3 separate regions of the Homo sapiens genome follow, and all the other regions are linked to region 3. The links are contacts of gene promoters, found by promoter capture Hi-C in blood cells and fetal thymus (Javierre and others, 2016). All regions are on one chromosome and are shown on one strand. The core of a region is centred on a gene start or on the middle of the fragment in contact, and the rest is flanking DNA. Distances in the headings are between cores, read along the strand shown.

Region 1 (2,688 bases), core at 129-2,628, 240 kb before region 3:
TTCTGCTTTGGTCTCTTTTATATCTGCTTCCTTCCCTCCTCTCAGTTCTGTGTGTGGAAAATTAGGTTATGGCACCTGCTCCCCATCATGTAATCTGCCCAGCTGACTGTGTAGGATATTAATAATAGGGTTGTCTTTGATGTTTGGATAAAGATGGCCATGCCTGTGTGTGTGTGTGTGTGTGTGTGTGTGTGTGTGTGTGTGTGTGTGTAAAACTATCAAAAGTTTACACATCCATAGGATGTGATCTTATGATTACCCTGGTTGTGTGCACTGAAATAGCATTTTCTCTTTCCCTGGTATCCACGTATTTTAGACTAGCAGTGCCTAATACCATTATAATGGAAGTCACATATGTAATTTTGAGGTAGCTACATTAAAGGAAAACAAGAACAATTAATTTTAGTAATATATTTTATAAGCTGATATATTAAAAATAGTATTTCAACACAATCAATATAAAGTTATTAATGAGATATTTGCATTCTTTTTTATTTTCATAGCAACCCTTTGAAGTCTATTGTATATGTTACATTCATAGCACATACCAGTTGGACCAACACGTTTAAGATGCTCAGTAGCCACCTGGGGCTGGTGGCTCCCGCATTGGATAGCACAGTTTAAACCCCACATAGCTTTACTTACCACTGAGCAATATGTTTTCAACTTCCAAGCTCTTGGATTTTTCAGTATTTCATAATGTAAGCCCCTTCTATTTCAGGGACTATGTAATAATACATACTCACACTTGAATGATGCTACTAAAGCTTCCCCTTCCTCACCTTTTTCCTTTCAAATTTAGATTTTCTGTTGCCTGGAAAATGCACATGAACCAGTTCAACAAGTAAATTGATCTCCCCTGCTGCCCCCTACCCCAGTCTATATGTATATTTTTCTTTTTTACCCAAGAATCACAAATACGTTCTATAGCTTATAATTTTATTTTTTTGGAGGGGACAGGGTCTCCCTCTGTTATCCAAGCTGGAGTATGGTGGTATGATTATAGCTCACCGCAGCCTTGATCTCCTGATCTTCCCTTTTTTTTTTTTTTTTTGAGATGGAGTCTCACTCAGTCACCCAGGGTGGAGTGCAGTGGCACAATCTTGGGTCACTTTAACCTCTGCCTCCCAGGTTCAAGCAATTCTCCTGCCCCAGCCTCCTGAGTAGCTGGAATTACAGGCGCATGCCACCACGCTCAGCTAATTTTTGTATTCTTAGTAGAGATGGTGTTTCTCCACATTGGCCACACTGGTCTCCAACTCCTGACCTCAAGTGATCTGCCTCCCTTGGCCTCCCAAAGTGCTGGGATTACAGGCTTGAGCCACCGCGCCCGGCTGAGGGTGATGCTTCCTCTTCAGCTTGCCTGGTAGCTGGGACTACAAGCATGCACCACCATACCTGGCTAATTTTTTGTAGAGACGGGGTTTTGCTGTGTTACCCAGGCTGGTCTCGAACTTCTGGGCTCAAGTGATACGCCTGCCTTGGCCTCCCAAAGTACTGGGATTACAAATGTGAGCCACTGGGCCCAGCCAGTTTATAATTTTGACAAGTTAAAGTTTGGTTGCAATGAATGAGTCTCATTTCTTTTTCAAATAAAGAAGATCTAGGAAATGTGAAGAAGTATAGTAACTAATGTTAGATAAAGACAGCCCTTGGAAGAGTTGAGATCCAAGAATAAAAAGGATTTAAGGAAAATCAGGAACCCCTGAACACAGTAGGTTTACCGAGTATGAAGAGCGCTTACCTTTTGACCACACCTTTGGTTTCCTAAGTTACTCAGGTGCCATCAGCAAGCCCTTAGGAATGATAAATTTAGGCTCCTGGTTACCAGGAAACTCTAGCCCTCCCAGCGCTCTCTCCGGGAGCACACTGACTATATCAATAGGGTGTTTTTTCTCAGCACTGGTGTTGACTGCCAGAATTTCTCTTCTAGTTTGTCTTACCTGTATATTTATTTCAGTGTTGTCCTTAGATAATGGCTCAAGCTTTTAAGAATTATGAAAGTGACATATGTACACTGTAGAAAAATAAGGGGAAAAAAAACCACATATAATCCCATCATCTGGAGATAATCATGTACTATTTTGGTGTTTTCCTCCATTTTCCTTTCTTTTTTTTTTTCTTCTTTTCCCTTCTCTTCTACTCTTCTCTTCCTTCCTTTTTTTCTTTTCTTCTTTTTTTTTTTTTTGAGACAGAGTCTTGCTCTCATCACCCAGGCTGGGATGCAGTGGTGCGATCTCACTGCAACTCTACCTCCCGGGTGCAGGGGATCCTCCTGCCTCAGCCTCCTGAGTAGCTGGGACTGCAGGAGTGTGCTACCACACCTGGCTAATTTTTTGGTGTCCCTTCATTTTCTGCATGTGTGCACACACTGAAATGGGATTATCAGGTTTGTTTTGTAAGCCTGTCTTTTTCTCAGCTTAATAATGCACTCCTTACGTTGCCACGTCAGTCACCCATGTTTTAATCTCTGTAATATGCTCATATAAGAATGTGCCCACAATTGTACCAACCAGTCCTCTATTTTAGGCATTAATATTTTCCCCTCCGGTTTTGGATTACTCTTAAGCATTATTTTAATGAACACTCACAAAATGAAAAATTTAAGCCTGTTTTAATTATTTTGCTAGGATAAATTCCTTAAGAGTAAAATTGTTAGGTCAAAGGCTATGTGTATTTTTAGAGCCT
Region 2 (2,692 bases), core at 129-2,628, 220 kb before region 3:
TGTTTGAACCCGGGAGGTGGAGGTTGCAGTGAGCTGAGACTGCACCACTGCACTCCAGCCTGGGCGACGGAGCAAGACTCCATCTCAACAAACAAACAAACAAAAATACAGGTTCCCAAGCCCCCAAGGTAGGTCTATAGGATTAGAATATGAGGAGGGGACATTTTTAAAATTGGTGGGATTACAGGGTTTTTTAATTCTTTTAGTCTTCTAAAGTCAATTTTATTGCGATAGTGTTTACATAGAGCAAGTGGATATACATCCAAATGGAGCCACCAGAATCACAGTCAAAACAGTAGATTTCTATCATTCCAAAGGTTCCATCCTTTCCCTGGGGAGCCCTTTCCTCCATTCTTGCCCTAGGTAACCACTCTCCGCTTCCCGTAGAATGGTTTGTCTTTTGAGAATCAGACTGCATGTCTCGTGTCTGGCTGCTTTAACGAAATGTCTGTGCAGCTCCCTTGTGCTGTCGGGCACGTCAGCAGACGCTCTCTGGTTTGTTGCTAACTAGCATGCCTTTTGATGGACCCACCATGATTTGCTTACCCGTCCACCTCTTGATGGCTCTTTGGATGTTTCTAGTTTGGGGCTGTTATAAATAAAACAGTGTCAAATTTTTGTCTTACATGTATTTGTGTGAAAGAAATCTGTCTTTTTTTTTTTTTTTTTGAGACAGAGTCTGACTCTGTTGCCTGGGCTGGAGTGTAGTCGTGCAGTCTCAGCTCACTGCAACCTTTACCTTCTGGACTCAAGCCATCCTCCCACCTCAGTCTCCTAAATAACTGGGACTACAGGCGGATACCACCATGCCTGGCTAATTTTTCTGTTTTTTTTTTTTGGTAGAAATGGGGTTTCGTCACGTTGCCCAGGCTGGTCTTGAACTCCTGGGCTCAAGCGATCCGCCTGCCTCAGCCTCCCAAAGTGCTGGGATTGCAGGTGTGATCCACCGTGCCTGGCCCAGAAGTGTATATTTTAAATAAGCTTCCCATGTGAGTCTTAAGCACATGAGCCACTGATTCTTATTCTGGCTCTTCCTCTCTCTCGTATCCTTTTGGAGAAGTGTGGGTTTTTGTCTAGAGCAAATGATGGATTTGCCATGGATTTATATTTCTGATATAGTATTTATTCAGTGCCGTCTACTTGGAGTAAATGTAAATTTCATTAGCATTTATGGAACATCTATCTTCTCCACACCGCCCCACCCCCCGCCCTGTGTACTTCCTTGTAAAGAGCATCTGTCTATTCTGTACTAGGAGCTGGGAATATAAAGATGAATTTTATGTTTTATTTTTTGTAGAGTCAGAGTCTCGCTATGTTGCTCAGGCTGATCTCGAACTCTTGGCCTCAAGCAATCTTCCCAACTAGGCCTCCCAAAGCGTTGGGAGTCACTGTGCCCAGCCTTAAAGATGAATTTTACATAGGGGGATTCTACTCTTTGGGCAGACTATTAGTGATTAATTCATTCAGCCATTGGAGGGTTTCTGTGTTACCTGCTCACTCTGCTAGGTGCTGATCATGAAAGGACAGGTTTTTCTTAGGATTTGGTGGTTCTTTCGAGAAACACAGAAGGTTTTGGTATTTAACTCCACGAATAGCTCAGCTCTGAAAACTTCTGGACAGTGCCATCACATTTCTCCTTCAGGTGGCCCTGCTAAGCCACAGTGAGAGGGGTGACTCTGTTTCCTGGACAGGGAGAGATGGTCGGATAAAATGAAGTTCAAAAGAAATCATTACAGGCTGAATAGCTGATGAAACAAGTACTGATTAAAAGCTTCTGCATTTGTGCGTGATTGTTGGTGGGTGGAGAGCTAGTGATTCAGTCCTTAGGGAATTGGAAGATTTGTTACACGTCTAAATATTTTATTTTACTTTTCTACTTCCTCATAACAGAATTTTCCAGATGGCTGATTTTTTTTATCTGTCAGGTTTACATTTATTTCCAGGCGACTTTTTTTTTTTTTTTTTTTTTGAGACTGTAGCGATTTCCTGCTTCCTTTAAGGTAGTGATTTTTAACTTTGGCTGCAGGGAGCTTTAAGAAATCTAGATACCAAGTATAATTTGTAGCACCTTGGCTTTTCTCCACTCTCTTCTGAAACCCAAAGTTATTTTAGAACTTTAAACATGAGGACATTATTCCGCACTGCTGTATCCTGAGCTCACAGCAGAAAGGACTGAATTGATTTGCTTGCATTACATTGTAAAGGGGGTAGATGCTGTAAGGGGAACCAGCCTTTCCCCTGGACTTGAGTCTGAGGAGTAAGGAAGAACTGGTGCTAATGTGGACACCATGAGGCTCTTAGGGGTGAAATTGGGCCCATCTTTTGTAGTTAAGTTAGTTTAGAAAATATAGAGGAGTAAAAACAGGAAAATAAGTCATTTGTGTTTCTATCACTCAACATTTTGGTTAACATTTTGGTGTGTGTATACATGGCCACATACTTTACACATACACAGTGGGTTAATGCTGTACATACTATCTTTTTCATTATATATATTGCTTTTAATTCTTTTCACTTATGAAATAACTTTTTTCACTCAAAACTAGTATCTTCTACCATTCTTTTTATTTTTTTATTTTTATTATGATAAGAACATTTAACACGAGATCTACCTTATTAACAACTTTTTTTTTTTTTTCCTCGAGACAGAGTCTCACCCTGTCACCCAGACTGGAGTGCCGTGGTGGGATCT
Region 3 (2,691 bases), core at 162-2,661:
CATAGAGTAGGTACATTATTATCCCCATGTTATAAATGTTGTCCTGGGATTCAGAGAAGTTAAGTAATTTGCCCAAGGCTGCACAGCGGGGAGGTGGCAGACCTGCACTGGGCTCTGTCTAATGCTGCACTGCATGTGTCCACTAGCCATGCCCCACTGCCCATCTGGGTTTCAGGAGAAGACAGTGCTCACACACTGTGCTTTTCACTCACTGGGTATGATGCCCCCTGAGCTGGGCAAAGGGCAAAGGGCAGGGCCCTTGAGGAATTTCGGAGAAAACGAGATGAAAGGGAAGACAGGAGGGCCTGGGGGAACACCAGGAGGGTCCCGGGTCAAGGTGGCCCTGGGACATCCGAAGGGCTGCCACTGATGTCATGGAAAAGCCCCTCACCCCACACCTTAAGGTTGCCTGTCACATTCGGCTCCTGAATCTACAATAGCCATCAAGGAAATCCACTTCCCAAGGCCGACTGTCAGGGCATTCTAGCACCTGGGTCTTTGCCTGTGTGGATTAGGGAAATGGAAGGAGTTCCCATACCGGAGCTTGCCTAAGCTGTCTCCTAGGCAAAGACTTACTGTGAGGCCATGGGGCCCCAGAGCTGGAGGAGGCTGACAGGGAGCTTGTTTCGCCCCTCACACACCCTCCACCACCCTGCTGCAGCTTCCCTAAAAGTGGCTAATGTTCCTCTGATAAAATGTTCAACTCTGATGCCACATTGCTCCTTATATTAAAAAAAAAAGGCAAAACACAGCTGAAGTGATCTCTAGAAGCACATCCAGTCATCTCTAGAAGCCTGCAAAGAGGCCTCACTGACCTTTCCTTGCTTGTAGACATCGCCTCGTCTTTGTCCCAGGGTGGCTATGAGCATCTGGACCCCCTCACCCCACTCTCTCTGCCTCCTGAGCACAGTGAACTCAGACTGACTTTCTCCAAAGAGATCCAAGCATGAAGCAAATATTCATTAGTCTCCTAAATAGGGCCATACTCCACATCATTCCTTTTTTAAGGAGAAATCTTAAATAAGATTAATGGCATAATAGATCATTTCAGGTGAGTCAAATAAAAAAAATAAAAGCACAGCATTCTTGAGAAAGAGATTAGTTTTCATAGGCAGAAGCTTAAAGGCAAAACAAAATCCCAACCCACAAACCCTAAAGTAGCATTTTATTATAGCACCAACTTAGAGAAAGGCAAGCCCAGTGATGACTGGGTATCCTCGCAAGTCTACCCTGAACTTGGGACCCATCCCCAGGTGTGGGAGTAAAGAAATCATTGCATGATTTTCAATCTGGGATCGAGCCTTGATAAGAAACCAGCAGTCCTGACCACAGAAGTGGCCCCCCACGTACCTTGGCTCTCTCTGGAGTGTGCCTCTGGAGCCTCGAGCTGCACAGTCCCCCAGCACACCCTCTTGGCAGCCAGGTCCGCCCAGCTATATAGGAGCTGCCGGGGGAGGTGGCATTCCTGCAGGTCTCCAAATAAGGCAGCCCTTCCCTCCCCGGCAGACCAATCAGGGCTTCCTGGACCACTCCTTCATCCTGAGAAGGATGGACCTTCTCATCACACTTTACTAAGGAAACCACGTGAAAATCTTGATGAAGTTCAGCAAGGCTTCAGAGGTGCCTTTTAGAATTGGAATGAGATGTGTTAGAAGGAAAATGCTTTTCCCATCAATATCTATGACAGATGTGGCTTCAACAAGCCTCGCTGGACATGCATAGTGTCCTGTACCTAAAGGCCGGCCTTGGACAGCAAAGCAGTCTTTGCTGACAGCCTCTGTGGGGAGGTTCAGCTCAAAAAGAGGGCAAGCGTTCACCTGGACCACCACGCCCTGAGGATGGGACCAACAGGGTGTGTGTGTGGTGGTGGGGGGGGGGGGCGCCGGGGGGCGGTTACACTTTCATCGGGTAGTGGGAAAACAGAACTGGTAGGTATGGGGTGGAAGACACGTGAGAAGACTTCCTGGCATGTTGGGCGAGGAATGCTTGAAGGACTGAATTAGCCCAAAGGCCAATAAGTTAAAGATCTGCGGGAACCCCGGGAGCAGAGACACATTGACACGCAGCCAGTCCCCTGGACAGGTGGTGCGGGCTGAGGGCGAGTTCTGCAGAGTGCCTTCTCCTCTACATGGTGTCCGAGCGCTGCGCAGAAGGGGCTGGAGGTGCATTCCTGGGCTTTCCAAAGCAAGAGACTCATTGGTATTGGGTGACCATTTTGGGCCTTATACAGAAGGGACTTGCTCAGGTGTCCCTGTTACAGTTAGTACTGCAAGGCAAAGTCAAAAGTGAATATGGGAGCAAGTATGGGGCCAGATTTTCCTGTAAACAGAATGCGATTTTTATGCTGAATGTGACCCCGTCAGTGTTCACGGTGGATTTGCGTCAGAGCAATTTTGCAAACCAAATTAAACGGTTGTTATCGAGAAGGACAGCAGATAGCGCCAGAGAGCTGACAAAGACCGCAGCCGGTCGGTGGGAAACCCGGGCTTCTGGGCTCTGGGTGGATTTGGGGCCTCCGGTTGGGCCTTTCTTTCTCCTCTGACTTTAACATTTGTTTCACTTCCCCACTTTTTTTTTTTTAAGAACTTTTCTATTTCCTTTCTAGAACCACAGACTTTTTGTGCTTCTGAATACACACAAAACAGAAACACAGTAGTGTAATCTTAGTACAGACTGTTTGCAAAATGGAGA

Evidence for each region. Contacts are between HindIII fragments. The CHiCAGO score rates a contact against its expected background, and 5 or more counts as called.
Region 1: a contact is called between a fragment that was not itself captured here and the fragment with the promoter of PRND in region 3, in 1 of 17 cell types (naive B cells). The highest score is 5.2, in naive B cells.
Region 2: a contact is called between a fragment that was not itself captured here and the fragment with the promoter of PRND in region 3, in 1 of 17 cell types (total B cells). The highest score is 5.5, in total B cells.

The regions. Positions count from the first base shown.
Region 1 is chr20:4,964,333-4,967,020 of GRCh38, reverse strand. All of the region lies in intron 2 of SLC23A2 (solute carrier family 23 member 2), which reads left to right. Among named protein-coding and RNA genes, the nearest start is that of SLC23A2, 36 kb to the left of the region's middle. The HindIII fragment of the contact is 1,218 bases long and covers 770-1,987 here.
Region 2 is chr20:4,941,652-4,944,343 of GRCh38, reverse strand. The region is part of intron 2 of SLC23A2 (solute carrier family 23 member 2); the gene reads left to right. Among named protein-coding and RNA genes, the nearest start is that of SLC23A2, 59 kb to the left of the region's middle. The HindIII fragment of the contact is 790 bases long and covers 984-1,773 here.
Region 3 is chr20:4,720,629-4,723,319 of GRCh38, reverse strand. PRND (prion like protein doppel) reads right to left here and starts at 1,411. Exons shown (of 2, transcript NM_012409.4): 1 at 1,351-1,411. RefSeq lists an enhancer at 2,489-2,691. The HindIII fragment of the contact is 8,148 bases long and covers 1,121-2,691 here.